Linked DNA regions of Homo sapiens: all the other regions are linked to region 1. Evidence: promoter capture Hi-C in 16 types of primary human blood cells and fetal thymus (Javierre and others, 2016). All regions are on one chromosome and are shown on one strand. The core of a region is centred on a gene start or on the middle of the fragment in contact, and the rest is flanking DNA. Distances in the headings are between cores, read along the strand shown. Region 1 holds the start of WWOX (WW domain containing oxidoreductase). Region 2 holds the start of HSBP1 (heat shock factor binding protein 1). Region 3 holds the start of TXNL4B (thioredoxin like 4B). Region 4 holds the start of ZFHX3-AS1 (ZFHX3 antisense RNA 1).

Region 1 (5,723 bases), core at 3,224-5,723:
GCTTCATAAGAGGCACGGGGAAGGGCAAACAAGGACGGCTCTGACACTGAGACCTTGTCCCTCACTTCCCATCTCCCATGAAGGGGCTGCTCTGAGACTGTGAGGGGAGAGGGGTAGAAGAAAGGCCCACCAGCTCTCTTGGGTTCCCGGTCTACCTCGACCTCACCCCTGGGAGCCCACCCTGGTGGGCTTTGGAGTGCTAGGACATGTGTGCCTTTGAGGCACACAAGTGAACCGTGAGGCAGGTGGGAAAGCAGGAGAGGCCGACAGCACCCACACAAGACCGGGTTCCACCAGACCCCGAGGTCTCAGTGGGAGCTACAGCCTCTATCCCTGGCCATGGCCCTGCTACAGTAGGAGAAACAATATGGAAAAGAAATGACTCAAAGAGCAGCCTCCTAGAAAGAACAACCACAAAGTTTCCCAAACCCCAAGAGAAAAACAAGTGTCACTTCCAGAGTCAGGAATGAAAAGGGGTTGGAGCCAGCGCAAAAATTAAAACTGAAAAGAAAAGAAGGGCCAGGATGCTCACAGATCAGGAGAGATCAAGGGAATGTCGGGTTAGGATGGATCAGAGGCATCCTAAGCTAACACCCAAAGAATTTCAGCCTTTCAACCCTGATCCAGAGAACTGAGGGCCAGCAGGGACGGACACAAGGTCCAGAGAGTGAGCCCTCCAGCTGAGAGCCAGCCAAGCCCTGGCATCTCAGCTGGTGTATACAATAAATAGCTAATGCACGGGGGGCTGAACAACTAGGTGATGGGTTGACAAGTGCAGCAAGTCACCATGGCACAGGTTTACTTATGTAACAAACCTGCACATCCTGCACATGTATCCCGGAATTTAAAGTTAAATTAAATTAAAAAAAAAAAAAAAAAAAAAACAGCGGAGCCAGAGAGGCCAGCTTGAGATTTAAGACACTAGTCGGGAGGGCTGGAGGAAAGGCGTTTGGAAACCATGTATGCACCCGAGTCCCCTGGCCAGGGGCCACTCAGGAAGAAAGCAGATGGGAGAAAGGCCAGGCAGCAGGAAGGCAGGCGCAGGGGGCACGCAGGAGCAAGGGAGCCCCAGGGCCCTAGCGCCAGGCTCCAGGGCAAGCCTGCAGGGAAGCAGAAGCACCTCTGGGGCTGAGTGGCAAAGGAGGAGACGCCCCACAGAGCCAGAGGCAGAGGTGGGCTTAGGAAGCCGGAAGCGGGTCATGTGCATCTTTGTACTCTGGGGCCCAGTGCACCACCCACCCACCCACAGAAGCCTGCGGCTGACCCTCCCAAGGTGATTCATTTACTCATCCCACAGGGGCTCATCTTATGGCTTCTGGGTGCCAAGCACTGGGGACACTCAGATGAACAAGCTGCCCCATGACATCTGCAACCTGGGCAAGGGAGACAGGGCCAACAAGGAGGAGTACACAGCCAAGGCTAAGCACGAAGAAGCAGAGAAACAAGGTGACTAGTACAAGGTCGAGGGGACACCCACAGTTAAGAAGGTCTCTTGGGCAGTGACATGTAAGCTCAGCTCTGAAGGATGAGAAGGAGCCTTTCCCCAACAGATGTACAGGTGAGAGGAACAGCAAGTGCCCGCTCAGGAGCTTGCCTCCGTCCCTGCAAAGGCTACTGGAGCTCTGCTGCTGGAAATGTCCCTTTAATTCTCCAGAGCCAGAAATTCTTCCAGAATTCACAAGCTGAATGAATGCCACTCTCTGGCTCTGCCAACAGAGCCCAAGCTTCTCGGCAAGGCACAGAAATCCTTGAAATGGGTCCTCCCTTCCCTGCCTTAACCTTCACATTCCTGGACCCTCACAAAGATCACAGGCCCCTGGACAGGCCATGCAGGGGGTCTCTCCTCTCACTGTTCCCTCTACCTAGACTGCCCTCCTGCCCCACCCACCTCTACTTGAGCTCAAAACACCGCTCTGGGCTTGGCACAGTGCCTCAGGCCTGTGATTCCAGTGCTTCGGGAGGGAGGCTGGCTTGAGTTCAGGAGTTCAAACCAGCCTGGGCAACATGGTGAGACCCCATTTCTACAAAACATGTAATAATTAGCTGGGTGTGGAGGCACACACCTGTGGTCCCGGGTACTCAACAGGCTGATGCGGGAGGATCGCTTGAGCCCAGGAAGTGAAGGTTACTGTGAGGGTGCCACCATATTCCCTCACGACCCCCCCAACTACCTACACACACCTCATGCCAGACACACTACTTCCTGGTATACACACTGCGTGGGGACGCTCCTACACATGTCACTGTGCCCTAATAAGATTGGGTCCTAAGGATGACAACTGGCTCTTATTTGCCTCGGTATAACCAGTGCCAGCCAAAGGCCTGTCACATAATACCTGTGTGTGTCTTGAATGAACTCATCAGAACTTGGTTGTTTTTCCTCTACCTTGCCACCAAAGGCAGCAGTGGTTCACATCCTTGCATAGATTAGAATCACCTGGGAGGGAAGATTTTACAACCTACCAAGGGAGAGGGGAGGGGCCAAACCAATTAAATCAGAAATTCTGGGCTGACGCAGTGGCTCCTGTCTGTAATGCCAACACTTTGGGGGGCCGAGGTGGGCGGATCACTTGAGGCCAGGAGTTGGAGACCAGCCGGGCCAACAGCGCGAAATTAGCCAGGCCTGGTGGCGGGCGCCTGTAATCCCAGCTATTCGGGAGGCTGAGACACGAGAATCGCTTGAACTCGGCATGCAGAGGTTGCAGTGAACCGAGATCGCACCACGGCACTCCAGTTTGGGCGACGGAGCGAGACCCTGTCTTTAAAAAAAAAAAAAAAAAGGCCGGGAGCGGTAGCTCACGCCTGTAATCCCAGCACTTTGAGAGGCCGAGGCGGGAGGATCACGAGGTCAGGAGATCGAGACCATCCTGGCTAACACGGTGAAACCCCGTCTCTACTAAAAACACAAAAACTTAGCCGGGCGTGGTGGCGGGCGCCTGTAGTCCCAGCTACTCGGGAGGCTGAGGCAGGAGAATGGCGTGAACCCGGGAGGCGGAGGCTGCAGTGAGCCGAGATCGCGCCGCTGCACTCCAGCCTGGGCGACAGAGCAAGACTCCGTCTCAAAAGAAAAAAAAAAAAGAAAAACCCTCTGGAAGTGGGGCCCAGAAAAAGGCTCTTACAAAAAAAGTTTCCCAGATGCTGAAAATCAGATTTACATCCATGTTTCTCAAAACCAGGTGATATTCCACCTCACCTGGAAAGCTTAAAAAAAGAGACTCCCAAAGTTGAGAGTCGGCTACAGTAGGTTCTCTATGGAGACCCAAAACGTGTATTTAGGACATTTCCTAGGTGATTCTAAGGTGCCGATATAAGAGGCACTGTCGTATCTTAAGAGCAATCAAGGAACGACAGTTAAGGAACAGAGAGTACCTACTAGACACGGTGCTATGTGCTTTACGCACAGTGCCTGAACTGACCCTCGTATCAACCCATTTTACAGGTGAAAAAACCAAGATTAAACGTTATTTCAATGGCCCAAGGTCACACAGTTAAAGATGAAGGCTCTGCTGGGGTTTCCAAAACTTTCCCAGGAAATGATAGTGAAGCTATCTAGGACTGCTACTAAAAAATACTCCTGGCTAGGCGCAGTGGCTCACGCCTGTAATCTCAATTCTGGAGGCTGAGGCAGGTGGCCTGCTTGAGCCCAGTAGTTCGAGACCAGCCTGGGCAACATGGTGCGACCCTAGTCTCTACAAATACTTAAAAAATTAGTCGGGCATAGTAGTGCACGCTTGTAGTCCCAGCCACTCAAGAGGCTGAGATGAGAGGATTGTCTGAACCCAGTAGGTAGAGGCTACAGTGGGCTATGATGGCACCCCTGCACTCCAGCCTGGATGACTGAGCAATACCGGTCTGGACAAAACAAAACAAAACACAACAAAACTCCTATCCCTGCAACCCAGAGCCTGCAGGAGGGAGCTGAGCATGTGCGCTTTTTAAAACATCTTTATTTTTTGGCGGGGATGAGGCCGCTTTGCCCTCGCCGCGCCGCGCAGTGCTGCATCCTGAACAGCAGAGGGCGCGCCGGGAAGCCACCAGGTGACCCCCGCTGGACCCGAGGCCCACCAAGGGGGCCGGCCCCTACTGGGAACCCTGGACCCTTTTCCCTGAAGCTCCTTAACAGTTACTTTCACTTTGCACCGCACGCGCTGCGCTGGAGTGCGCGTCCTCCCCGCGCAGGTGGCGTCCGTGGGCTGTGCAGGGTCCCAGGTGCGTCCGCGGCCCCACTGCGGCCCCCTTACTTGGCGTAGTAAACCCAGCCGTCCTTGGTGGTTCTCTCCTCCCAGCCCGGAGGCAGCTCGTCCTCACTGTCCGTGTCGTCCAGCCCCGCGTAGCGCAGCGCTGCCATGGCTGACTGTGGAGGCACCTGGCCCCCCTATCGCCCGCTGCCGGGTCCACTCGCTCAGGAACTCACTCCCGCTCCAAACGAGACCCGCGCGCGTCGGGGCCCGACCGCTCACGCCTGCGCACTGCGCCCTCCAGGGGCCGCTCCGCCGACCACGAAGCTGAAATCCAGTCTCCGCAATATCGCGACGGCCGGCGTCAAAGGGGCAGGGCCTGGAGAGGAAGGCGGTGAAAGTGCCTAAGAGATCGCGCTGCCGCCGGGCTAGACAGCAAAGCCGGAGAGCGCTCCGAGGCGCTAGAGATAGAGCGGAGCCTTGTCAGCCTCCCCGCCGCAGGGAAGGGGCGTGCGCATCCAGTTTCGGGCCAGGACTCCGCCCGTTGCTGGGCGACCCGTAATCACTTCCGCGTTGTTCTGGCCAATCCTGCAGGAGCCCGGCAATTGGATATGGGAAATGTAGTCCAGGTGGCGCCTGACCAAAAAGCGGCGCCCGACTAAAAAGCGGCGCCCATGCTGTTGTCCTGGGCTTCTGTCTCTCCTTGCCTTGGGGTCTCGTGAAAGTCCGTGATCACAAACCTTCCAGGGCTTGCCAGCATTCGTGCTGATTCACAACCTTTGTTTTGCATATGAACACAATGTTAAAATATAACCTGGAGAACTTAAAACTGCTGATTCCTGATTTCCTGGTTTTAGAGAACTTTCTTTCAGCCAAAACACATAATAGAGACTGTGATAATAGAGACTGTTGTTTAATAGAGACTCATGATAATAGAGACTGATGATAATAGAGACTGATTGATAATAGAGACTGTTGATAATAGAGACTGATGTTTACGGAGCACTTAATGTGCGGTCCAGGCCAGAAATGCACAGACATCACATGTAGCTGACACCTTTGTGTAGTGGGCACAACTCAGACAGGGTAGCTAGGCCGGGCTCAGTGGCTCATGCCTGTAATCCAAACACATTAGGAGGCTGAGGCAGGAGGATCACTTGAGGCCAGGAGTTTGAGAACAGCCTGGGCAACATCGCAAGACCCCTGTCTTTACCAAAAATAATTATTTTTTTAGTTTGCCGGGCGTGGTAGTGCACATCGGTAGTCCCAGCTACTCATTGAGGCTGAAGGGGGAGGATCACTTGAGCCCAAGAAGTCGAGGCTGCAGTGAGCTATGATCGGGCCACTGCACTCCAGCATGGACGACAGAGAGAGCTGCTGTCTTTAAAAAACTGCCTCACCTTTAGAGAATTTCCTTTAGTAAGTCTGGAATAGGTCCAGAATCTGGAAAGAAAGGGAGGGAGGGAGGGAGGGAGGGAGGAAGGAAGGAAGGAAGGAAGGAAGGAAGGAAGGAAGGAAGGAAGGAAGGAAGGAAGGAAAATAAAA
Region 2 (5,987 bases), core at 2,190-4,689, 5.7 Mb before region 1:
TGAAGAAGGAAAAATCATCAACATGTTTTTCATTATATGAGCACAAGTAAAAATGACATATAGACCTATCAACTACAAATCCCTTTCCACTCTCCTACTGAGTTAAACTTATTTTCTTCTGGCAATATTTTAGCAATAGATTTAACTGGAAATATCTTTAAAAGTTTCAGAGTCAGTTTCCTACTCCCACTCTTTTCTTTGAATGACCCCCATCACTAGCCAGTCTACCATCCTGAAATTCTTGTGGTAAGATAATCAGTCAGTTGATGGCAGTTTTGATTGCCACATAATATAAAAAGAGACCCACAGAAGCATCTGAGACTGGTAGGACATTTTTCCAAATTATCTCTGGATAAGAATAACGATGACATAACCCATAGAAAGCAGTTATGTGATTTACTCACACAGTGAATGAACCCCACCTACTGTGAAGATAAAAGCAAATTTTAGAGTCTGTCTTCAACATCCCAAATCTGTATTTCACAGTGACTTAAAATGTGGTCCACAGCAAGCCCAGAAAATAGGAAATTAGGCATGTTTTACTGTACATTCTGCTTAGTACTCTACGAATCTAAAAATACTCAGGAACCATTTTATTTTATTTTTTTGAGACAGAGTCTTGCTCTGTCTCCCAGGCTGGAGTGCAGTGGCATCATCACGACTCACTGCAAACTCTGCCTCCTGTCTCAGTCTGCCAAGTAGCTGGGATTACAGGCGTGCACCACCACACCCAGCTAATTTTTGTACAGACAGGGTTTCACCATGTTGGCCAGGTTGGTCTCGAGCTCCTCACATCAACTGATCTGCCCTCTGCCTGCCTTTGCCTCCCAAAGTGCTGGGATTACAGGCATGAGTCACCACGCACCAGTACCTTTTTTTTTTTTTTTTTTTTTTTGAGACAGAGTCTCACTCTGTCGCCCAGGCTGGAGTGCAGTGGCGTGACCTCGACTGCAACCTCCGCCTCCCTCAGCAACATTCATTTTTATAGAGAATTAAAATGTTATAAATGAAACAAGAGAAAAGTGAGTCTAAAACTTATTTTTCACACATACAGAGGAAAAGGATCACCATGCACTCTGCTGAGTGATTCTGTACATTTACCTATCTTGCTGTGTAGGTACTTTGAATTACTAGGCTTTCCTCTGACATCTGAAACTATTCAGAGGAAATTTAAATGAACTCCAGGGTAAAAGCTTAATGTGGCCACAATCTAGTTCACCTATGTCAAGTTACCAAGAAAGTCTCCAGAATTTAAGCCATTTAAGAAGGTGGTAATGTGGGTGACTTATCAGTTATTTCCATAAAAAAAAAAAAAAGCAATGGAAAATCTTCCAGTGACAGGCTTTATAGGCCAACAAAAAGACACCTTAATTATTAGCTGGAATGATAAAAACTCAGTGGTTATCTAATGTTAGCCAGTGGTCTTCACTAATAGTGACAGAAGTCTAATTAATAAAAACTGGGAAAATAAATTCGGTGTAAAGAATGAGTTTGGCATGAAAAATTTCAAAACATCAAGTCCACAGCAGGTAAACAATACAGTGATGCTTGCTGGGATCATGGCTGGGAACTGATCTACAGAATGTCTGACTACATACAAATTATACTTACAGGTTCTCTCTATTCTTTTAAGACAAAATAAAAAAAAAGACCGGGCACGGCGGCTCACACCTGTAATCCCAGCACTTTGAGAGGCTGAGGCGGGCAAATCACTCAAGGTCAGAATTCGAGACCAGCATGACCAACATGGAGAAACCCCGTCTCTACTAAAAATACAAAATTGGCTGGGTGTGGTGGCACAAGCCTGTAATCCCAGCTACTCGGGAGGCTGAGGCAGGACAATCGTTTGAACCCAGGAGGGCAAAGGTTGCAGGGAGCCGAGATCGTGCCATTGCACTCCAGCCTGGGCAACAAGAGCAAAACTCCGTGTCAAAAAAAAAAAAAAAAAAAAAAAGAAAAGAAAAGAAAAAAAAAATTGCCCCCTTCCTCACCTTCAACTCTTTTGCGTGGCAGGTATCTTGTTTTCACTTTCCAGTTCTTCCACCCCAGCCTGTGTCATGAGGTCCGCGATATTCTTTTCCAGATCATCAATGCGACTACTCATATCATCAAGTGCTGAAGTTAAAGACAACGCGTGCCAACATCTCATTGAGCCTTTTTCCTCCCGTCCCTGCAGACTACAGCCTTAAACACAACGACTTTAGGGAAACTGGTCTTCCAATTTTCTTTCGACACTGTTACACGCTGGTGGGTAAGAGTACAGGACTGTGGGGCATGGCTACCCCGCATCGGATTCCAGCCCTGACCCTTACTAGTGATGGAACCCCTAAACCTCAATTTATTCATTTGCTAAAGATGATAACACTACAACCCACTCATAAGGTCATGCTGAGCATCAAAAGACACACACAAAAGCGCTTAGTTCACAGTGCATGGTCCACCACACCAGCTATTAGGATTGGTAGACGTATGCTCCTTGAGCCAGGAGTCTAACTCAGCTTTGCCCCTAGCTCTCGGCGCAGTCCTTCTCAGAAACACAGTACAATCCAAGCTCAAATTCTACAAGTGAATGGCTGAAGCTAGCCTGAAAACTACTCATTTATCCCCACCACTGCCCGGCAAATAGGCTCCAAAGGCCCACAGGAGGCCGACTGCAGATAAAAAGGATATTTCTCCCAATGATCTGGTCAGACATGGTCTGAAATTTATCTTGCATCTGCTGCAGGAGTGTCTGCACCTAAGAAAAACCGAAACAAACAAACACGGTCCACATCGATCCTGAGACAACTTCCTGGGATCAGGACGCAAGCCCTGGTCCCGGGGTTCCAGCCCCATTTCTGCCTCTGGACAGCTGTGCGGCCTTCAGCAAGATCTTCCTTCTCTGGGCTTCCGTTTTCCAACCTGTCCAATTAGACTGCTGGGCTGGGGAGGCCGCTGCGACTCAAAGCTCAGGGTCTTTAGGTTGTTTCTGCCGGGCTGGGGCACCCGGGGGTGTGTGAGGAGTTGAAGGGCGGGGAGGGTGTCAGAGGTAGGCGGGAGGGACCCGGAGGGCGTTCGCGACAGATGAATGGGGCTACTGGAAGGGGTCGGGCTTGGGGGCGCCCGCGGGGAGACTGGCCCGCACCGAGCGCCCCGGGGGTCAAGGTGGCCGGGAGCCTCGGCCAGAGACGCTTCCAGAAACGGGGCCTCGGCAGACGCCACGCGCGGCCGCGGTGGGCGCGCCTCTGTCCAGCAGGGCTTGGCCCGGCGCCGCCCGGGAAGGCCGCGGCCTCCGGCCCTCACAGCCGTCCCTTACCACCGAGGTGAGGTCCTGCACGGTCTTGGGGTCAGTCTCGGCCATCTCCCCGATGCCCAGCTTGGCGGTGATGTCTCAGACCGTAACCTACACTTCCGTTTGTCCGCTCAGTCGCCCCGGGCCGCTGCTTCTCGCGACGAGACTGGCAGCTCGCGGGACCGCGGGGCATTATGGGAGTAGTAGTTTCTCCCGCACCGGAAGGGCCTCGAGGCCGCGCGCTTCCGTTCCAAGGAGCGGCCCCACCCCACTCTCCCCGCCTTCTTTCGCATAGCCCCTCCCCTCCCTCTATGCCCCGCCCCTCACGCAGCGCGCCGTCAGTGGGGTGGAAAGTGAGACCAACTCAGAAATGGAGCAATAGAGGCAGGGAGTGGTCTTGGCCTCTCTTCCAGGCTGTAGTCAGTCGAAAGACGGCTCTGGGGTTTCTTTGGCCTGTCGGGACGAACTTACAGAACTTTTGCCCTTCAACAAGCCCCACTGTACCCTTGTAACTGCCCCCAAGCCAAGGAACATGACCCACCCCTACCCGCCCCGGGAGCCCCATGGCTCCTGTCCTGTTCTGTCATCTCCACCCTATGAAGGTGGCCAGCGTCTGGAGTTTAGCCCAGTAGGTTCATTGTGCCCGTCAGGTTCATATGAGGGGATTCAGACAGGAAGCTGTCCATCATGCCTGGCTTCTTTCACTCCACGCAATGCCTGCTGTTGAGTGGGGAAGGCTTCCGGCATCAGGGTTAGACTGTGGGTTTGGGTGTTGAAGGAGGTGGGCACTGCTGATTTGGAACCTCAAGTTCCAACCCCACAGGTGGTCTTTAGGATTGGGTCTCATGGCAAGGGGATAGGAGAGTCCTTGACTGCGGGCCTGGCATGTTCTGGAAACTTTCACACATCTCATTTAAGGACTGTGCTATGTGAGGGGTCAGCTCCAGTTTGACTTTAGCTAGGGAGAGGCTGTAAGGTGTTAGAGCTGTTACGGGAAAGGGTCCTGATCCAGACCCCAAGAGAGGGGGTTCTTGGATCTCATGCAAGAAAGAATTCAGGGCGAGTCTGTAAAGTGAAAGCAAGTTTAAGAAAATGAAGGAATAAAAGAATGGTTACTCCATAGACAGAGCCCTGAGGGCTGCTGGTTGCTCATTTTTATAGTTATTTCTTGATTATATGCTAAACCAGGGGTGGGTGATTCATGCCTCCCCTTTTTAGACTATATAGCGTAACTTCTTGACGTTGCCATGGCATTTGTAAACTGTCATAGCGGTAATGGGAGTGTAGCAATGAAGACAAGCAGGGTTCACTCTTATTGCCATCTTGGTTTTGGTGGGTTTTGGCCGGCTTCTTTACCGCAAGCTGTTTTATCAGCAAGGTCTTTATGACCTGTACCTTGTGCTGACCTCCTATCCCATCCTGTGACTTAGAATCCTTTAACTGTCTGGGAATGCAGCCCAGTAGTTCTCAGCCTCAGTTTACCCAGCTCCTATTCGAGATGGAGTTGCTCTTGTTCAAACGCCTCTGCCAGACCCACCAGTGTCTCTAACAAACCCGGAATCCAGTTGGCCTTGAGGCATGAGACTTCAACTCCCTTTACCACCCCTTCCCCCTCACTCACACCTTTGCCCCTCACCCTTCACACCTCATCCTTTCCTATAGAGAGATCTTCCTTTCTGTGTAAGTATACACAACTTTTTTGTAATTGGCTGTTGTCAACTGGTATTTGGCTAGTGCTTTACCCGACTACTTGAAATAAAAATATCTCAGTGTTTTAAGTTAATCCTCAGAAGACCCTGTGATATAATTATCATAATTTTACATTTTTGAGAAAACAGATGCAGAGGCGTTAAGAAACTGGAACAAGGTCATCAAATTAAGGAAGTAAGAGACGCAGGACTTCCTGACTCTGCATCTTCTCCTTTTTTCTCACCATTCTAGAATTCTCTGAGTTTTTTGAGCTTAGAGCAGAGTTTCTCAAGAGCTGCAATACTGGCATTTGAGTCAAGTCGTTCTTTATTGTTGGTGGTGGAGGGGGCACCCTGTATATTGTAGGACGTTGGGCAGCATCTCTGACTTCTACCTACTAGATGCCAGTATCTCAGTTTTCTTAAAAGACTTTTTTTTTTTTTTTTTTTTTTTTGAGATGGAGTCTTGCTGTGTTGCCTAGGCTGGAGTGCAGTGGCACCATGTCGACTCACTGCAACCTCCGCCTCCCCGGTTCAAGCGATTCTCCTGCCTCAGCCTCCTGAGTAGCTGGGATTACAGGTGAGCACCACCATGCCCAGCTAATCGTAAAAGACTTTTCATAAAACTTCAGAACTCCTTAAAAACTAGTGAATAGCCAAGGTGAAGAAAGCCCTCAGGCTTCTGACTTTAGACCCCAATCCCTGGGACTCCCACACTCAGCAAAGAAAGCTGGGTGCCTGCACCCTGGATCTCTGAGCAAACCTGTCTTATGGCTGTGGGCAACTCAGGAACATGAATTAGCACGAGAATCTGGAGTTTTTCTTTCCTTTTCTGGTAAGACACTTGTGGTTTTTTTTTTTCAAATTCCAATTGGAAATTTGCTTTACATGAACAACAAACAAACTTGATACTCTTTTAGTGGAGGCATTATTTGTTCCTTTATTTTTTGCACTTAAACAGACAGGCAGTATGCTTTCTCTGTGTGGAGACCAAGGTCTGTTAAAGGGCTGCTTTTCACGGAAGCTTC
Region 3 (5,397 bases), core at 621-3,120, 6.0 Mb after region 1:
TTTACATGAGTTCTACCTCTTCCTCTCTTTAAACAACAGGTACAGCAGCACAGAGATGGGGCAGAAGGCTACCGTCCATGTTCTCCATACTTTAGTGGCTTTTCTTGGCCTAGCTGCGTTTTACAGAAAACAATTTACTCACAGCAGCCAAAATCAGTTTAATAACAATCCATGTTCACCAAAAATATTTATGAGAAACACCAGGTTAGGAAAAGGTGTTACTGAGAAGTATTTAAGTGGCTACAAGACTTCTGGCACTCAAGTTGGAACAAGCTCCTCTTTACCTCTCACTACACATCTGCCACTCATCAACATATATCAGTTCTGGATGCTTGGATAATTCCTCTCATTCCAACAAGTTAGCAAAGCAAAGGAGATGCCACCAGAATCCAGAATTGTTTACCAAACTCTAATTAAATGCACAGCTCTACAGAGTATTGCCAAACAGACTGGACACATAATATTAATGCAGAAACAAGAGTTACATTTTGAAAATGCCATCAGGCAGAACAGAAAAAAAGAAAGCTGCATATTGGTGACATCTGTGCGCATGTGAGGAAATCCACACAAGAAGGTAAAGATATACAGGCTCTACTCAATAGTTGTCTAAACTAGGAAAGGTACCCTGGACTGCCATTCTACGCAGTTGAGAGAACACTGGATGTGTTGTTGACTGCTGTAGCTCAATGTCTAGCAAAATAAGCGTTTGATAAATTAAAAAATGAATTAATTTAAACTTATTAAAGGAGGACAGGAACCCAAACATTTCTGGAGACAGCAAGGGAAGATTCCAGCAACACAGGACAAGGAGACAGCCAGAGAGAACTTCATTAGCTGCTGAGACGAACAAATAAGGAGCTAAAGAGCAAGATTCTTGAGAAGGATTAATGGCAAAGAAACTACAAGGCGTACGAGAAAGCCAGGGAAGAAAGAACCTGGATTCATTCATTCAACAATTATTCACTGAGGGTGTCCCTGAGCCAATTGCTGTTCTCGGCGATAGCAACAGAGAACAAGACAAAAATCCCCGCCCACCTGGAGCTGACATTCTAGTAGAAGAGATCGCCCACCAGATTGCCTGGTATAAATGACACTGTGAGAGAGCAGAGGAAGACACAAGGAGTCCTACTCGGGCTCGGTGACAGTCTGGGGTGGGTTAAAGCGGAGGCCTGGGAGAGGGACCAAGGCCACTCCAGGCAGCATCCCTGGATCTCAGCGAGGCCGCTCCAGGCAGCAGGATTTGACCAGAGCAAGGAGGAAGGCCAAGGCGGCCAGGACGGATGCAGCATCCCTGAGGTGAGTAAGGCAAGGTGGGTGACAGGGACGACAGAGGAACTCCCCAAACTGGGGCCCGGACCTGAGCAGGGGACCAATATCCGCCGCCTAGAGCCGCCATGATTACAGAAGGGCAGGCCAGGAAGGAAGAAGGGACTCTCACCTCACCAAGCGCGACTCTTGGGACCCTTCTGTCCCGGATTCTGGGGCGCCGGCGCTGCCACCCCTCGCTCAGACAGGCTCAAGGAGCCAAAATCCACACCTTGAAAGCGGCCATTATTGTCCCTTAATACTTTGCGCGCCCCCTCTATCCGCCCAAAGCTACCATAGAGAGCAGCCTGGAACACGCCCGATTCCTGGATCCAAGTGTGGAACGGTACGCCAACAGGCTCTCAAGGCCTCCTCTGGGGCTCTGATCAGACACTTCCGAGTCTCCTTGTGACCAATCACTCTTAGCCTAAGAGACTACATCCCGCCTCTAGTCTGGGGGCAGGAAAAGGAGGGGAAAAAGGTCGACCATCTTTAATACGGGCGGAGGTGACGCCTAGCTTCCGGTCAGAGCCGAGCAAGGTGGGCGGTGACTAGAAGCTCTTCCGTTTATTGGGCTGTTGAGCGGGGGCCGACCGACGGCCAGGAGTTTCTTTTCTGCGCTTGTGCGTTTTCTGTTCGGTTTCCTTCCCGCTAGCGGGGCCACGAGGGTTGCTAGGCAACAGCCCCTGGGTGACTTGGTCTTAGGGTCCTGTCCGGCTTGGGGCTGATGAAAGGAGCTGTCCGCGCCCGGGCTCTTCCGAGAAGTGGTTGCTGACAGCCACAAAGTGAAAGGGAGTGAGGCGGCGTGGACGAGTAAGGTAAGTGCTGGGGTCCCTTAGCGCTTGTGGGCCAGGAGCAGCGCAACACAGGTGACTTTAAATATGTATATCGGATATTTTGGAAAATGGAGATGCGCGCCCGGCTGTAAATAAAAATCACCCATGCGTTCACACGCAGAGATGACCACTGATTTCCAGTTGTTTTTCTGGAATACATTGTAGTAAGATTCTGTACAAAAGTGAGTTCAAGCTTTTTTTCTTTTTTTGGTGTTTCTGCAGTTGTGGCGCGCGCCTGAGGTTCCAGCTACTCGGGAGGCTGAGGCGGGAGGATTGCTTGAGCCTGGGGAGTTGAGACCAGCCTGGGCAACATAGCGAAACCCCGCCTCAGAAAAAGAGAGGGAGAGAGGAAAGCAGTGGAGTTATTGGTCAAAGAGTATGTCAGTTTTCTTTCCAGAAAGGTTTTGTGTCTGCATTCCAGCAGGAACTCCCTGTGCCTGCCCCTACCACTATCTTGTTTAATTTTTGCCAATTCAGTGACTTTGTAAACATATGTTTTAATTTGCTTTTCTTTGCTTACTGGTAAAGCTTAACTTTTTAGTTTATTTACTGTCCATTTGTACGTCTTCTTTTGGGAATTCTCTGTGGGTATCATTTACTATGGACATTTTCTTAGATGTGGTCTCAGTTTTCCTCTCCTGCTTCCAACGTTTGTCCAGTTGCACCCCTAGCCTCACCACTAACAACTTTGTTCTCCCCTTACTTTCTCCTTTCGATCAGTAACACGGAGGAACTGCTGTTTGTTTGAATTCTAGTGGGACAGATCCGTCTTCTCTTTGACCTTCCCTTTCATTGGTAATTTGTTCTGCTGCTCACATCTGATGACGTCCCTTTGGGCCATCAATGTCCCTGTTTAAAGTATGACCTATAGCTGGAACAATCTTATTTCCTATGTGAATTTTAGTTAAATAATTCCTTTTTTTTTTTTTGGAGACGGAGCTTCGCTCTTGTTGCCTTGCCCAGGCTGGAGTGCAGTGGAGCGATCCTAGCTCACTGCAACCTCCGCCTCCAGGGTTCAAGCAATTCTCCTGCCTCAGCCTCCTGAGTAGCTTGGATTACAGGTGGCATCTGCCACCACGCCCGGCTAATTTTTTGTATTTTTAGTAGAGACGGGGTTTCACCATGTTGGCCAGGCTGGTCTCGAATTCCTGGCCATAGGTGATCCACCCTCCTTGGCCTCCCAAAGTGCTGGGATTACAGGGGTGAGCCTGGCCTAATTCGTATCTTAAAATGTGACTTGTGACAAAAAAAATAGGAAAAGAAATCCTCCCTTTTCATATTTGGAACTGAATTCAAAATACCGACCATCTCAATGGAGTCTCTTATAGATGACCACAAAACTAAGCTTCTTTGTCAAAGAGTTTCTCAAAAATGAAATTTCTACCAATCATGAAAATAGATTATTGTAGTAGAAGGACCCCTGGACTAGAAATTTGGTGGCCTGTATTCTAGTCCTTGTCATTGTAGTAGAAAGTGCAACTGTAAGCAAGCTAGTTTGTAAAATGACGGGGTTGTATTAGGTCCCTTGTACCTCAGTATTTTATTATTTGTTTATGGTATTGTAGTTTTCACACACACTCTTAATTGATCTGTTTGCCGTGTAATGAGGTGCACCTAGTAAGGTGCACACGAAGAATCTTTAAGCCAGGACTTGTAATAATATAAAGTATACAATAAAGGACTGTTTAAAAAGTGTAACACATGCAAGAAATAATATGCTGCCATGACAGAGAATATGGATGTTCTCTATATAGAGATATGGGGCAATCTTCATAGGTTAGGTTTGAAATAATGAAAAGTGCTGAAGAGTAGATAAAGTGTGTGTGCTGAACATCTGCCATTGGTCCCTCCACAGCCATTCTTCATCCTCCTCTAGACTGCTCTGGGACAGGGAGGTTTGCCTGCCTCAACAGGCCCCTGCCCTCTGGTTCCAGTTGGAGTCAGCCGGTGGTTGCATGAGCAAAGGTCAGAGGGAGGGAGGAGAGTGGCTGCAACACCTAACAGCAGGCTGCCCTCCTATACACTGTCCTCTCCACTCACCTCTTTCTGCCACACAATTCTTATAACTGCTTCCTACCGTGGCTTCTTCCTCCCATGGCCTAGGGATGGGTACAGCATCCCGCTGTTACTAGCCCCAAAGTAGTACACTTTACCGTATTGTTTTTCTACACCTGCCTTAATTAAACTGCCTTCAAATTACCAAAGTTGAGAGTGTCATCGCTTTCCTGCTGGAACACTGATACAATAGGCTATCTTTTGGGGGTGGGGAGAGAGAGAAAAAAAATATCGGAACGCATATTTGTATTTTTTGGTGAATGCATAACAAAACTCTGAAAGATACATGAGAAACTAATGAAAGCAGTTATCTGGCCCGGGGGAGGGAACAATGAAAACTGGTTCCAAGGAGCAGGGACAAAGAGAGGGAAACTCCACAGTGTTACCTTTCTATGATGTTTCTTTCATACCATGTGAATACATTAGCTACTCTGTGAATTAATTTTTTTTAATGAGGGCTCACGCACTTAATCTAAACTGTCTTTAAACATTGCACCTTTATTTCAGGAGTGACAGTGAGGATTCACATTTGGGTTATTTCAAGATGAGCTTCCTACTGCCCAAGCTGACTAGCAAAAAGGAAGTAGACCAGGCGATAAAAAGTACTGCTGAGAAGGTGTTGGTTCTCAGGTTTGGGAGAGATGAAGATCCTGTCTGTCTGCAGCTAGATGATATTGTAAGTGAATGTCTAAAATAATTGGTTTTTATTAATAATCTGTATATTCTCACTTCAGCATCTGAGTAGTACATGAGAGGGAGTAGTCAGGGTTGGGTATATAGCTGTTCATTTGTTAGTTCACTAAGAGCTGATTGTGTGCCTGCCCTGAACCAAGCCCCCAAATCTGTGTGTGCTGAATCTGTCTTGGATGTCCTTACCCACTAGAAGCTGTCAATGCTGTTTCACCAACAAGGTGATGGAAGAGCAGAAAACTATTAACAAGCATCTGTGAACACTATCTTTTCAGTGCTCGCAATAGTGGGATAATAGTAGCCCCATTTCCCAGTAGGAAAAAAAAAACCAGAGAGGTCAAGTAATTTCCCACAGGTGCAGATCCACTATATTGCAGAGTTGAGATTTGAACTCAGTTTTCTGTAGCTGCAAATAATCTTTTCTAGTGTGCTGCCTCCAGTATGTGCCTGATGCAGAGAGAGACCTAACCCAGAACTAAGACCTCTTACCGCCATTTCTACTGCTACCATC
Region 4 (6,010 bases), core at 1,273-3,772, 5.4 Mb after region 1:
CTGTGGCTGAGTGTAACAGTATACAATAAATCATCTCTTCTGCTGTCTTAGCTGAAGAATTGAAAAAAATTTTCAAGACAGAAAGTTAAAAAAAGAAGCCTTGTGAGTTAAATGCATGTTGAGAAAGAGAACGGGCCTGGAAATAAGAGGACTGCTTGTTTTGCACTAAGTTGCTCAAGCTTTCTGCATCTCATCTGTAAAAGGGACTATCACAATATTGTTGAAAAGACTATATGAAGAATATATTTAAAAGCACTGTGAAAATTGTGATACGTGTCATTTTGAGATTTTTGATAACAGTATTTAACATTTACTGAGTGTTTTTATGTGTTATGTGTTATTCATACTACAAGATCTTCTAATAACCCTAATTTTCTAATAACTTAATCTTCTTGATAACCCTATAAAAACATCAGACAACTAATCCCATTTGACAGAAAAAAAAAACTTAAAAATTCAGAGCAGTTAAGTAAATTGCATAAGGTCATTCACTTAATAAAAATAGCTACCATTTATTGAATGCTTTATATAGTTGGCACATACTTAACATTATATCATTTATTTAATGTTATAAGGCAGGTGTTATTATTTTCCATTTTATAGAACAGGACTAACTTAACCAAGGTTGTATACACAACTTGTAAGAGGCATGCCAGATCTTTTATATAGTTGACCACCACAGTCACTATCTACTTATAAATAGCTTATAAGACTGGCATATAACATGCAATGTTTATAAAACTAGTTTGTTGCTAAACCTAGAAAAAATATTATTTTCCCTCCAACTATTTTTCTTCTTTAAAATTTAAAAACTCCATTCCTCAAATTACCTTTATTCTTTTGTTTTCTTCTACTTCTTAAAAAGAGGACTTTTAATCAATTTTATTAATTCATTTCTTTTACCTTCCCCTACTATTCAAGAAGAACCTTACAAAAATCTATGTTTGGCTAATAATGAATGATTACTATTAATTTTATCACGGCCATTTTATCTCTCACTTTTTATTTCCTTTGATTCTGCTCTTAAAATTATTTTGTTATAAAAAATGGAAGTCTCGGCTGGGCACATTGGCTCACGTCTGTAATCCCAGCGCTTTGGGAGGCAGAGGTGGGTGGATCACCCGAGGTCAGGAGTTCGAGACTATCCTGGCCAACATGGCGAAACCCTGTCTCTACTAAAAATAAGAAAATTAGCCAGGCATGGTGGCGGGTACCTGTAATCCCAGCTACCTGGGAGGCTAAGGCTGGAGAATCTCTTGAACTGGAGAGGCGGATGTTGCAGTGAGCCGAGACTGCGCCATTACACTCCAGCCTGGGCAACAAGAGCAAAACTGTCTCAAAAAAAACCAAAAAAAAAAACCTCTATGAATTACAAGTAACTTGAGGGGTCACCTCTTTGTTATAATAATTTCTCACTCTTTTTTCCACATTATAAATTATGCTTAATCACCTAGGTTTGATTTTGCTGTGAATTTATTCTTCAACTCGTAGAAACCCCAACATTCTATAGAACTTCTTCTATTCAACAATACAGATACAGGTCAATTCCAGAAACCTCTCTACATCCACACAACCCCTGTATTTCTTATTCACCTGCTATAAATATTATTTGCTTGAGACTCTTGTTTTTGGTTTCTGCCAGTTTGTTTTTCTTTCCACTTTGTTTCATATGCTGCCTCTTTCAAGGTCTCTAAAAGGAGAAATACTCCCTCAATTCTCTGTATAACCATTTTCTTTTTCTTTGATCTCTTAGAAATCTTTATTAAACAAAGATTTTCCAATTTTTTCTTCACTCATACCTCTTTTCCAGGCTCTTAAATGACATTTCTTACTTGCCGAATTAATGGCTTATCATATTCCCTGTCGCTCAAGATTTAATCTTTAGAATTCTTTTTCAATAGTCCCTCTTCCCTACTCACTATGGTTAATAGATCAGTGTGTTCTTAAATCGAGGTTTTTAATTTAAATAATCTAAATCAAAATCATGAAGAAGGGTTGTTAAAAATGCTAGATTCATGTGCTTTACCCTGAATTAGCTGAAAAGGTTTTCAAGGATAGATCCCAGAAATCTTTTTAAATCAACAACCCATGTAAGACTTAGGCATACTACATTTTGAGAACTACTGCATTATATCAATTTTCACCTAAGTCTGCTCATTCTACCTTCTCAGTGTTTCTCATCCATTTATCTCCTATTGTCTCTACCCTAGTTCAGGGCTGCTTCATCTCTTAGCTGGACATCTGTAATAGGATTTTCCTGCCTTTAGGATATTTCCCACTTTAATTCATCCTACACACTGGAGTCTTATTAATCTTACTAAATTGCAGCTCTGCTCATTTAATGTGACAACAATTTACTGAGAGCATACTATATACTAGGTGCTCTAGGGCAGTAGATTCTAAATGGTGTGATCACCAGATTTATTAAGTGAGGGAAAACTTTTCAAAATAGAGATCCTCCACCACCTCTCCAGGCCTACTTAATTACAATCTTCAGAGCTAGAATTAAGACAAGTTTCTTTTTAAAAAGTTCCCCAATTGACTCCTTTGGGTAACACTAGATGCTTTTGAATAACATTAGACTGGAACAAATAAAGATTATGACATTCTTGTGTATTTCAGAACGTACTGGGAGGGATATGAACATAAGCAAATAGCTACCATATAATATGCCGATTAATGATATATTAGAGGTACCAAGTGCCATGAAAAGATTAATTCGAACTGCATTAAATACCTTCAGCACCACACCCAGCTGGATGAAATCTGTTTGTCCTGTAATCTTCCATAGCACTTTATCTATAATCCTCTTATGGTCTTCTTTCATCTTGCTCAATAATTATTTTTTTATTTGTCTCATTTCCTCTACCCTTGTACTTGAGGCCACAGTCTTGGTCTTTGTGGTGCATGTAGTCTGACAAGAAATTTTTTTTGGAGTTCAAATTTATTTACACGATAAAGTTACACAAAAAATTAAATTTTGTAAAGTTAGGTATTTAATAAATGATCTCAAAAATAGGTCCTTGTAACTCTAGGATATATGTAGCCAAACGTATGGATCTTAATCCCTGCATGGCACTTAGTACAGTTCCTTTAACACAACAAGTACTCAATAAAAAAAGCTGTGCATAAACCAATGGGGTCTGGGAAAAATGTATTTGGATATGCAATAAAAATACTTAATATGTCCAATATCCACCATCAGGTTATGATTCCAAACGAAGTAACATGGTGGTGGTTTTTGCAAACTGATAACCTGTAAGTCAAAACCAGCCAAACTGTTTTGTTTGGATGGCTCGGGTGGGGATGGAGGGTTGTTTACAATTTTAATTTGAATGTCTTCTGTCTGGGCAAATATACTTTGAATTGCCACAGGCCCTACCACTTCCTATTATCTTACACTAATCTGACTTACACATTTATGCTATCTATAGGTCTAAAAATGGGAGTTCTGAAAGGTGACAGATAATTGCTCCCAATCATTTCTGCTTTTTGAGTCTTGGCTACTGTTATGGCCTTGAGTCTCCCCAAAAGTTATATGTTAAAGGTGTAACCCCTAGTACTTCAGAAAGTAACCCTATTTGGAGATAAGGTGTTTGAAGAGGTAATTAAGCTAAAATGAGGTCTTTAACACGGGCCTAAATCCAGTAGGGTTGGTGTGCTTACAAGGAAAGAAAATTTGGACACAGGTGTGCACACACATGGAGAAAACAGCACATGAAGACAAAGAGATGAGACAGTGATCTGAGTCAAGGACAGAGACCTCAGAAAGAAACCAACCCTGCTGATACCTTGATCTTGAACTTCTAGCCTCCAGAATTGTGAGAAAATAACTTTCTGTTGTTTAAGCCACCTAGTCTGTGGCATTTTGTTATGTTTGCTCTAGCAAACTAATATGGATCTCAACTATATTTAGTATTAATCTTGGCAGTTTTACATCAAAACTTATTTGTTCAAGTCTGTCTGCCAGGTACATGGTGAACACAATTCTGAGTAGTTTAGGGTTTAGATGATGCAAGTTATATGTAAGATATATTCATAAACATAAATAAGAAACATTATAAAGAATACAAAAAAATGCCAAATAAAGACTATTATAGGCATTCAGGAGGGAGAGAGGTGACTATGGACTAGGTCACAAAAGATTCACAATTTGACCTGGGTCTTAAAAGCGTAAGTAGGATTCAGCCAAGCTGAGGAGAGAGGACATCAAGGAGATAACAGTGAACAATGCCAAATACATGTCTACTACCGGAGGAAATTTATTTTTCTCCTTTTAAGTACCTCTATGTTCAAGTTTCTTTTCTGTGCTTTCTAACCTCTAAGATCACTATATATTTTTAAATGAATGGTGTAAGTCCTTACAAAATTTAGGCATTTTTTTTTCTTGTCAGATAAATAACAGTTCAACTGACTTTGTTCAGTACAACACTGACATCCAAAGGATACTCGGGTTCATCTGAAGGCCTCTTGGGCTTCTGCTGAGTTGGTTTGATTTTCAAATGGTCTATGTAGGCAGTAAGCTGCTCATGGAACATTCTCTTTTGAAACCCTGGGCATTTTTTGATCTCTTACCCATTTATCAAATCTCATCACATTAAATGGCTCCACAATGCAGGTGGCCTGTGTTTTCCTAAGTGCCTCCTCTTCTTAAGAATGTATTACTCAGTTCATTAATGTTTCATACTTAAGTATTCTGTGTATTTAATTTTTTATTTAATGAAATTTCTAACCTTCAGGCTGACGAATTATTCAGAATGTTTCATCCAAGCTGTTGGAAAAGTGCTCATTAGCAGGGAGTTTTGAAGATGGAATTTTAAGAAAGGGGTTGGCAGGATCCCAAACACATATAGATCTAAGCTTTCATAAATGCTTCCCTACCTTAGCTATGGAGGAAGAAATTGTTGATAAGCAGATAAGTTTTGCTTTAGTTTTTACATTTTAGTGACAATAACAATGATTTCTGTGGTCTGATAAAAGATGTTCGTTTAAAGAGTTATCTGCAGAAAGCTGTGTGGTCACTAATGTTTACTTTCATTGACAAATGAGATCGTCTTGTGTGGGACTATCATCATCAAATGAGACACAACTGAAACTAAAGCAGCCATGCTTACCATTCGGTTTAAAATTTTTAAAATTAAAATAATGCTCCTAACGAAAGGAGTCTCAGCTGAATTAGTTTGAGTGTTGGCATGGACTGGGCTCAAATCACCTGCTCATCTTTAACACCTGCCTTCAGATTTATGGGCGATTAAGAACTTAAGTCTGAGAACCTATGAGACTGTCACAGAAAATAAAATTTCAGTTCTTCGTCCATTAACTGGTTCAGATGAAATTTGGGGTCAGAAACAACCAGAACGTTAAATTTCATTGTAAACTTAAATCGCATTCAATGGTTAAAGACTACAAAATGTATGTAGTGCAGTTAAAAAACCTCACACAGCAAGAGGTTATTGAATGTTTAAAGATCCAAAATTTCAACTTTTTGTGGTTAAGTACAGTTATGTTGGGTAACAAAGTTGACAGCAGGTTTCTGTTACCCCCCTGTTGGAGGAGGAGGAGGCGCTACCACACGCTTACCTTAGGGAAATAACGTGCACTTTATAACCGTTCAGGTAAATCGTTGGGTGAGAAAGAAGAATAAAGGACACAGCCGGTGGAGGGACCCCAGCACACAGTCCCGTGGGTGCTCCGGAGGAAACGGCCGCAGCCCCAAATCTCCTAGTCTCTCTAGCAGGGAGTTTTCCCGCGGAGTCTCGCCTGGCGGCCGGAAGCCACCTCAAGCCGCCCACCCGGAAGCCGTCGTCTTGGCAACTGGGTATCGTCCCACCCCCTTTTCTTAGCAACGCCTATCGCCTTAGACGTCTGAGGTCAGCCGAGCCTCGATTGGTTCCTCTGTCTTTCACTCTGGGAGACGTTTGAGACCCAGCGTCTCTAGATCTCGTATTTGAATTTGTGGCGCTTGGTGTCCGCGAGTTGCCGAATGAAGCTGAGCGTCTCAGTGGAACCA

The links. The method cuts DNA at HindIII sites, captures the fragments that hold promoters and counts their contacts. A CHiCAGO score of 5 or more calls a contact.
Region 2: the fragment with the promoter of HSBP1 here is called in contact with the fragment with the promoter of WWOX in region 1 in 9 of 17 cell types (total CD4 T cells, naive CD4 T cells, naive CD8 T cells and 6 more); the score reaches 14.7 in total CD4 T cells.
Region 3: a contact is called between the fragment with the promoter of TXNL4B here and the fragment with the promoter of WWOX in region 1, in 2 of 17 cell types (naive CD4 T cells and total CD8 T cells). The highest score is 6.0, in naive CD4 T cells.
Region 4: a contact is called between a fragment that was not itself captured here and the fragment with the promoter of WWOX in region 1, in 1 of 17 cell types (naive CD8 T cells). The highest score is 6.3, in naive CD8 T cells.

The regions. Positions count from the first base shown.
Region 1 is chr16:78,098,404-78,104,126 of GRCh38, reverse strand. It overlaps WWOX (WW domain containing oxidoreductase), which reads right to left and starts at 4,473. Exons shown (of 9, transcript NM_016373.4): 1 at 4,242-4,473. The coding sequence starts at 4,348. RefSeq lists an enhancer at 3,740-4,239. The HindIII fragment of the contact is 3,217 bases long and covers 3,204-5,723 here.
Region 2 is chr16:83,805,430-83,811,416 of GRCh38, reverse strand. It overlaps HSBP1 (heat shock factor binding protein 1), which reads right to left and starts at 3,439. Exons shown (of 4, transcript NM_001537.4): 1 at 3,296-3,439; 2 at 2,671-2,737; 3 at 1,992-2,112. The coding sequence starts at 3,340. The coding sequence ends at 1,994. RefSeq lists silencers at 3,003-3,292, 3,310-3,486 and an enhancer at 3,144-3,645. The HindIII fragment of the contact is 4,790 bases long and covers 1,196-5,985 here.
Region 3 is chr16:72,090,093-72,095,489 of GRCh38, reverse strand. TXNL4B (thioredoxin like 4B) reads left to right here and starts at 1,870. Exons shown (of 4, transcript NM_017853.3): 1 at 1,870-2,123; 2 at 4,704-4,872. The coding sequence starts at 4,741. It overlaps DHX38 (DEAH-box helicase 38), which reads right to left and starts at 1,643. Exons shown (of 27, transcript NM_014003.4): 1 at 1,439-1,643. RefSeq lists enhancers at 1,348-1,647, 1,708-1,757, 1,768-2,097. The HindIII fragment of the contact is 4,501 bases long and covers 1-2,336 here.
Region 4 is chr16:72,664,904-72,670,913 of GRCh38, reverse strand. ZFHX3-AS1 (ZFHX3 antisense RNA 1) reads right to left here and starts at 5,781. Exons shown (of 4, transcript NR_171704.1): 1 at 5,581-5,781. LINC01572 (long intergenic non-protein coding RNA 1572) reads left to right here and starts at 5,944. Exons shown (of 14, transcript NR_126330.2): 1 at 5,944-6,010. RefSeq lists an enhancer at 5,983-6,010. The HindIII fragment of the contact is 4,681 bases long and covers 182-4,862 here.